Linked DNA regions of Homo sapiens: all the other regions are linked to region 3. Evidence: promoter capture Hi-C in human tissues and cell types (Jung and others, 2019). All regions are on one chromosome and are shown on one strand. Each heading gives the region's core, a stretch centred on a gene start or on the middle of the fragment in contact. The rest is flanking DNA. Distances are from core to core; before and after follow the strand shown.

Region 1 (2,700 bases), core at 186-2,685, 81 kb before region 3:
TATTGTTGGTTTTTCTTTAGAGACGGGGACTTGCTATGTTGCCCAGGCTGGTTTCAAACTCCTGGGCTCAAGCAATCCTCCCACCTCGGCCCACAGTCATGAGCCACTGCACCCTGCCCCAGCAAGTTTGAATAGATCCCTTTAAAAGAAATTGCCATGCCAGGCGCAGTGGCTCAAGCCTGTAATCCCAGTACTTTGGGAGGCCGAGGCACGTGGATCACCTGAGGTGAGGAGTTCGAGACCAGCCTGACCAACATGGAGAAACCCCTCCTGTACTAAAAATACAAAATTAGCTGGGCGTGGTGACGCATGCCTGTAATCCCAGCTACTCAGGAGGCTGAGGCAGGAGAATCGCTTGAACCTGGGAGGCGAAGGTTGCGTTGAACCGAGATCGTGCCATTGCACTCCAGCCTGGGCAACAAGAGTAAATCTCCATCTCACCAAATAAAAAAATAAATAAATAAATAAATTGCCTTAGCTCAACATTCAACCTTGGAGCTTCAAACCTGAGTATTTGTCTCACTCACTGTTATTTATTTCCTGAACTTAAAGCAGAAACTGGTACACAGTACCAGTACTCGATACATTATGTAGTTAATTAATTATAGATTAGGGAAATATTCTATGAAAACCCAATTATAGGCCGGGTGTGGTGGCTCATGCCTGTAATCCCAGCACTTTAGGAGGCCGAGGCAGGCGGATCACAAGGTCAGGAGTTCGAGACCAACCTGGCCAATATGGTGAAACCTCATCTCTACTAAAAGGTACAAGAATTAGCTGGGCGTAGTGGCGGGTACCTGTAATCCCAGCTACTGGGGAGGCTGAGGCAGAAGACTCGCTTGAACCTGGGAGGCGGAGGTTGCAGTGAGCCGAGATCATGCCACTGCACTATTCCAGCCTGGGTGACAAAGCAAGACTCCGTCTCAAAAAAAAAAAAAAAAAAGAAAAAGAAAAGAAAACCCAATTATAATAGAAAAAAATTAACCACTCTTAATTCTACAAAGAAGGATACCACAAATAAAATCTACAGACAAAACCACTTAAATAACAATTTTAACCTCTTCCTTCCCAGCAATCTTAAAAGAACCAGGCAATAGCCAGGAGCGGTGGCTCACACCTGTAATCCCAGCACTTTGGGAGGCCGAGGCGGGCAGATCACGAGGTCAGGAGATCAAGACCATCCTGGCTAACATGCTGAAACCCCGTCTCTACTAAAAAATACAAAAAAATTAGCCAGGTGTGGTGGCAGGCGCCTGTAGTCCCAGCTACTCAGGAGGCTGAGGCAGGAGAACGGCATGAACCCGGGAGGCGGAGCTTCCAGTGAGCAGAGATCGCGCCACTGCACTCCAGCCTGGGCGACAGAGCAAGACTCCGTCTCAAAAAAAAAAAAAAAAAAAAAGAACCAGGCAAAACTTGCTGAACTCAAGCTGGCTGGTAAGCAGCAGTTACCAAAACAGCCTGACCACTCTCCTCAGAAAGGCCTGCAGTCAGGGCTGGCCCTTAGTGGAGTCTGCAAACCTAGATTCAGGGAGTTAAGAGTGCCCCCAGAACCTACACTGTGCAAACGATATGGCTGACACTGAACAACTGCTTTCCTTCTGGGAGACTGGACTGTGGTTGCATGCATGGGGGCAGTGCCTACGTGACACGCCCCTGGTCTCTAGCGAGCTTTCCTGGTTGGCAACACCTCACCCACGTTTTCAGACCACATGGCTGGGGGCATGAGGGGCAACCTGCCTGACTCCACAGGGCGCGCTCTTAGAAGCTTGCACCTCAGCTCCTGCCTTCTCCCCACGCGCCTTTGCTGATCGCACCTGGCATCCTTTCTCCATAGTAAGTCACAGCCTGAGAGTGACTGCATGCGGAGTCCCGGGAGTCCTCCTAGTGAGCCAGCGAGCCTGGGCATAGTCTGGGGGATCCTTGATCCATCTGGGAAAGCTAACGATGCTCCTACCTGCTTTATTCCCTCTGAACGCAGAAACGGCTAAGGATCACTCATCTGTGATAACCATGTATGACTAAGGTAATCATATATGAGTCAGCCTGACAAGCAGTCACACGTATTACCTTCTATCTCTTTCCATTCGGTTATGCCTCTCCCTACGTTGAGACCTTCCTCCCTGGGGCCCACTCTGGGCCTGCTCCCCCAGGTTTGCCTGTGAGGACTCCGAGGACTGCCAAGCGCCTTGTGTGGCGGTGGCACCTTCGCCCACATTCTGAATCTCTCCAAGGGCTCTTCGCTCTACATTTGTGTCCAACTGACGCATTCTACTCCGATTCCTCTTCAGTGCTTGTTTGCATAGCGCTGCTTCTTTGCGAAAGAAGAAAAAAGTGGTTTTTAATTTTGTATTCTTATCTCAATTAATGCTGAATACAGTTTTGGCCTTTTCAATCCAAGATATAAACATTATTGGGTAAGCAGCACAGAGAACCGAAACACAAAGAGATGTACTAATGCAGTTTTTCAGCATCAGCAGGGACCATGAAGCCCAAGCCTATTTTATACAACGAAACTGAACAAGAATCAATCATCACACTAAATACGTTTTCCAAGTGCTATGCAACCAATATGACCTCATCCAAAGCCCCTCTTTTTAATTAACAGGTGTTATCTATGAATACAGAAAACAAGAAGTTGTTTACTTTTTCTAAAGGTCAGAATGGAAAAAAAAAAACAACAACAACAAACCACCTGGACAT
Region 2 (2,700 bases), core at 15-2,514, 130 kb after region 3:
GTCTGTGTCCTGTCTGTGTTCGTGTCCTGTCCATGTCCGTGTCCTGTGTTCGTGTCCTGTCCATGTCCGTGTCCTGTCTGTGTTCGTGTCCTGTCCATGTCCGTGTCCTGTCTGTGTCCATGTCCTGTCTATGTCCGTGTCCTGTCCGTGTTCTTCTTCACCCTGATGTGGGGGAGCTCTTTCGGCCTTTCCTTTACTGCAGCCCGAAAAGGAAAAAAGAGGGAAAAGCAGGCACATTTCTTGACCAGAAAAAATAAACAAAAACAAAAGCCCCTTGTGCTCCATGGGGGAGAGCGTGAAGCCCCCGAGCGCCACTGCCCCCGGTCCCAGGAGGCTCAAAGTCCTCTCTGCTCAGAGAGCCGGGGGTGCTTGGCCCCACCCTGTCCCCCTTCCCAGCCACTTGGTATTTACATGTACAGCTGGACCCCGAGAGAATCCCCATTCTAAGCCCAACAGTACATTCTGGGGCGTTTTAAAGAAGATAAGAAAGTAGCTCAGAGGTTTGCCAGGCTGCCTCATTCCTGGGATTTTTAGTGTGAGCCTTGGAGCTGGTGGGCTTGAATGTGGGGTTCCTGCAGTTGGGTCCCCCTGACGCCCCCGGCCCTTCCCTGTCACTCCGGGGTGTAATTAGGAGTGTCCCCCAGGATTGAGGGAGTGTGGTCTCGAGCTGGTTGGACTCAAGGCTGTTCTACTTTTTTCTCCAAGTTTTGTTTATTGTGGTAAAACACACATAAAATTTTATCATCTCAGCCATTTTTAATGAACAGTTCAATGACACTAAGGACATTCCCATGGTTGTGCCATCACCACTGTCCATCTCCAGAACGCCTTTCACCTTCCCAAACCCAGGCTCTGTCCCCATTAAACAGCTCCCCACGCCTCCTCCCCCAGCCCCCGGCCTCCCCTTTCTACTTTCTGTCTCTACAAATGTGGCAGCTCTGGGACCGCGTGTGAGTGGACACCTACAGTATTGTCCTCTGCGACTGGCTGATTTCATTAGCATGTCCTCAAGCTTCATCCACGTTGTAGCCTCCGTCACAATTTCCCTCCTTTTTAAAGGCTGAATAATATTCCATTGTGTGGATAGACACATTCTGTCTATTCATTCATCTCTCAATGGATACGGTTGCTTCCATGTTTTAGCTATTATGAACAATGCTGCTGCAAACATGGGTATAAAGTGTCTCTTTGAGATCCTGCTTTCAGTTCTTTTGCGGGTGCACTCAGCCGTGGAATGGCCGGATCACATGGTCATTCTGAGTTTTGTTTTGTTTTGTTTTGTTTTTTTGTTTTTGTTTTTTTTGAGACAGAGTCTTGCTCTGTCACCCAGGCTGGAGTGCAGTGGCGCGATCTCGGCTCACTGCAACCTCCGTCTGTTGGGTTCAAGTGATTCTTCTCTGTCAGCCTCCCCAATAGCTGGGATTACAGGTGCCGGCCACCACACCTGGCTAATTTTTGTATTTTTAGTAGAGACGGGGTTTCACCATGTTGGCTGGGCTGGTCTCGTACTCTTGACCTTGGGATCCGCCTGCCTTGGCCTCCCAAAGTGCTGGGATTACAGGCATGAGCCACTGTGTCCGGCCCATTCTGAGTTTTTTGAGGGAGTGCCATCCTGTTTTCCACAGTGGAGGCACCATTTTACATCCCCCACCAGCCGTGCACGAGGGTTCCAGTTTCTCCACATCCTCACCAACATTTCTTATTTTCAGCTTCTTCTTACGGTAGCCATCCCAGCGGGTGTGAGGCGCATCGCACTGTGGTTCTGATTTGCGTTTTCCTCATGGTTAGCGATGTTGTTTCACGTGCCTATTGGCCGTGTGTGTGTCTTTTTGGAGAAACACTTAGCCATGCCCTCCATGCATTTTTGAGTTGGGATTTTTGCTCTTATTGAGTTTTAGGAGTTCTCTGTACATTTTGGATGTTCATTCCTTATCAGATATATGATTTGCGAATATTTTCTCCTGTTTTCTGGGTTGCCTTTGATTCTGCTGAGATTGTCTGTTAAGGTGAATAATTTAAAGTTTTCCTGAAGTCCAGTGTGTCTGTTTTTTCTTTTATTGCCTGTGCCTCTGGTGTCATATCCAGGGAACCGTTGTCCAATCCAGGGTCATGAAGCTTTGTGAGGCTGTTCTACTTTATTTCCAGGGAGCTGCACAACCTGGGGTCTTCTCTGGGGCCGTGGGCTCTGAGGGCCGAAGGCCACGTTCCCCGGGTGTTGGTGTGGACCTCGGCACGGCCCCCACTGACCTGCATGGGCCGAGGTCCTGCAAGAGAACGGGCTCCATTTGCGTCTGAGGGCCAGGATGCCTGCACTGGGGATCACGCTGTGCTTCGGATGGAGCCTCCAATCTCGGGGATGCCATTTTACCCTGGAGGCCATCGGGCTTCATGCCCCACGGGCATTGTATCGGCTTCCGTGTGGCCCCGAGAGCAGGGCAATCCGAGGGCAAGGCCAAGGGAGTGGTGAGCGTGGCCTGCAGGGCGGAGCCAGGCGAAGTGGGGTGGGGCTGGAGGCCGCCCGGGCTCTGGTTGGTGGGCAGAGGCAGGAAGCCACTGGTAGCTCAGCACAGCACAGGGCTGATGTCAGGGGCGGCACCCAGCCAAGACCCAGGGAGCTGGGTGCTTTCAGCTTCTCTTTGCCAGTCAGCTGCTATGAGGGCCTAAGCAGTCCCCATGGCTTCCTGCTGAGACACCTAGGTC
Region 3 (2,700 bases), core at 16-2,515:
GACCAATAACTGTTTCCCATAGGGTTATGTAGTTGCAAATGAAAAAATTACTGGCATGTACTGCCTCTGCATATGAAGCATAATTTTGTCAAGACCTTATACCTGCAGATTTAGCTCTTTCGATTAACGGAAAATGTCCAAAATCAGTCTCCTCCAACCTATTTGCCGAACTGGACTTACTGTCGCTGAGTAGACCGACCGACATAGCTTACACGTTGTTCAGCTCGCTTGTAAGCAAACACACGAAACCACCTCACCCCTGACTTCAGAAAGAAGCCGTCCCGTGAATTCCTCACAGATGAAATCAGGAGCTGCCCCTCAAGGACTCTATTTCTTCCTTCGGCTCTATCAAATATTTTAAGGTACTTCCCAGCAACGGAAACATGGGACCCTGCAATGACAGACTTCGCATTCCTCCTGAGCGGACAGGCAATAAGCAAGTAAACGCGCAAATACCCAAGTGCGGCCTCAACCCGCGCTCCTGCCGGGAGGGTCTCCAGTCACCGAGTAACCCCGGCCCTGCCCCGCGCCGCCGCCGGGACTCCGCCCCGCAAGCAAGTGGGGTCTCCTTTGTCCCGCGCGCCCTGGCCGCGTCCCGCCCTTCGGCGTAGCCCATGGGAGGCGCCCTGAGGGCAGGGCCCTTCTGATTCCCCACCTGGCCTCGAGTGAGGACGCGCTCAACAACATCTCGAGTAAAGCGGGGGAACTCGCTTCAACGCGCAGACAGCACAGCTCTCGCCCAGCCCGGTCTCGGGTCAGCCGTCTCTCCCTGGACCTCAGGGACACTAGCCCTGGAAGGCCGCCGGTCGGGAGGGGACTCCCTCCCCGTCTGAGGGGCGGCCGCGGACACCCGGCGCCTTTCCCCCGCCCCACCCCGTGCGGCCTCACGCAAACGACAGGAAAAAAGCTGGGACCTTCGCCTCCGACTCAGTGTAGACGTCGCCATCCCGGTTCCAGATTTCCGCGCTCCAACGCCTCCGCAGCAGCCATCTTGCCAGAGGGCCGACGCCTTTTGACTCTGGCGCCAACCCGTAGTGCGTGGTCGCCGCGAGGGGAGTTCTGCGCAAGTACGGAAGCTGAGGTTCCGCGCTTCCGGGAGGCCGTCCGCCCCGCCCCCTCGCGGGGGCGCTTCATTGGTCATCGGCTCGCGCTCTCGCGCTCTCTTGCTGTCGCGAGAGGTGCTGAGGGGCGGCCTCCGGTGCGCCTGCCCTCCCGCTCCCCGCCCCCGCCCCCGCCCCCGCCTCCGCCGCGGCCCCCACCTCTGCCTCCTTCTACTCGGGCGCCCCGGCGGCCGCCACCTCTCCCCAGCCCAGGAGAGGCTGCGGAGCCGCAGCCGCCCAGACCGCGCAGCGCGGGAGGCAGGTTCCGCACGGTAAGATGGCGGCGGCGGGCCCGGGCGGCCGGGCCGAGCGTCTCCCGGGGCCGGGCCGGGCGGGCAGGCGGGATGTGGCCGGGGTGCGCGCCGCCCCCGCTCTGGGGGCCTTGGAAGCGCCGGCGCTGGCAGGTGCGGAATTGGGGCGCGCAGTGAGTCCAGGCCCGGACGGCCGCCCCGCGCCGGTGCCCAGGGGGCAGTCAGGGCTCAGCCTCCAGGCGCGCGGCCTCAGGCGCTGGTGTTCTGGGGCGGTCCCGGCCAGCCTGAGGGGCGGCGGTAGCTGTCTCTGTGGAGGAGCGACGTCCGTAACGAAGTCTTTTTAATAAAATCTGCTGCTTTAAAGCAGAAACCGAGCGGGTGAGGATGTAAAGTGTGGCATGGAAAGTAGGAGTCTTCAGCACACGGGTGTTTTCTTCTGCTGAATCTTTTTATGCTGGAGTTTGAGACTACCGAGTTCTTCCTGCTAACAGGACTGGCCAGTTCTACAAAGTTGTTGCTTTTCATGGGCGCACGTAACTGCCCGGAGTGGAAGCGCTGTGAGTGCCGATCACCGAATGGGCCGAGAGAAAAGGTGCCTTTTCCTAGGGAGCTCTTAACGTTGGTCCTAGGGCCGGGCGCGGTGGCGGAGGTCGAAGTGGGCGGATCACTTGAGCCCGCGAGTTCGAGACCAGCCGTGGCAACAGCGAGACTCCCTTCTCTGCTAAAAATAAAAAAATTAGCCAGGCAGAGTGGTGCGCTCCTGTTGTCCCAGTTACTCTGGAGGCTGAGGTGGGAGGATCGCTTGAGCCCAGGAGGTCGAGGCTGCGGTGAGCCATGATCGCGCCACTGCCCTCCAGCCTGGGCGACAGAGCGAGGCTCTGTCTCAAAAAAAAAAGAAAAAGAAAATGAGTCCTTAAGTTACCATTAATTGTCGTGAATAAAAAGTTGGTCTCAGTGAGTTTTGCAGTTGACAACGAAAGATGGGTGTTCGTGTGTGACAGCGACTCCTGGTTTCTCCTCCACTTTACCTGCCGCTCCACATCAAGTTTTCTTCTGCTGGTGCCACTTTCTCTGCTTTACCTTCAAGGTTGGCATCCTCCAAGTAATGGCGATTCTCATTCCCTATCTACGCTCTTCCTATGGTCTTTGCTGAATTCTTGGCTTTAAATATCCCTGTGCCCCAGCACCGCCCCCCCCGCCCCTTATTTCACTAATTCATGTTTTCAGCTCTGAGCTCAGGATCTGTAATTCAGACACCTGCTTGATTTCTCCAGACGCATGTCTAATAGTCACGTCAAACTTGCCCTGCTTCTCAAACCTGTTCTTCTTCCAGTCCTTCCTCCTTATTT

Evidence for each region. The method cuts DNA at HindIII sites, captures the fragments that hold promoters and counts their contacts. A contact is called where the count stands out against the background at its distance.
Region 1: a contact is called between a fragment that was not itself captured here and the fragment with the promoter of GID8 in region 3, in 6 of the 25 tissues and cell types used here (dorsolateral prefrontal cortex, liver, lymphoblastoid cells and 3 more).
Region 2: a contact is called between a fragment that was not itself captured here and the fragment with the promoter of GID8 in region 3, in 3 of the 25 tissues and cell types used here (bladder, dorsolateral prefrontal cortex and lymphoblastoid cells).

The regions. Positions count from the first base shown.
Region 1 is chr20:62,855,328-62,858,027 of GRCh38, forward strand. TCFL5 (transcription factor like 5) reads right to left here. Exons shown (of 6, transcript NM_006602.4): 4 at 2,068-2,311. Among named protein-coding and RNA genes, the nearest start is that of TCFL5, 5.1 kb to the right of the region's middle. The HindIII fragment of the contact is 4,926 bases long and covers 1-2,700 here.
Region 2 is chr20:63,062,053-63,064,752 of GRCh38, forward strand. No RefSeq gene overlaps it. Among named protein-coding and RNA genes, the nearest start is that of LINC01749, 17 kb to the right of the region's middle. The HindIII fragment of the contact is 3,284 bases long and covers 1-2,700 here.
Region 3 is chr20:62,936,882-62,939,581 of GRCh38, forward strand. It overlaps GID8 (GID complex subunit 8 homolog), which reads left to right and starts at 1,266. Exons shown (of 5, transcript NM_017896.3): 1 at 1,266-1,372. It also overlaps a transcript of DIDO1 not described here. RefSeq lists silencers at 467-516, 787-836, 1,207-1,436, 1,507-1,636 and an enhancer at 1,332-2,000. The HindIII fragment of the contact is 10,021 bases long and covers 1-2,700 here.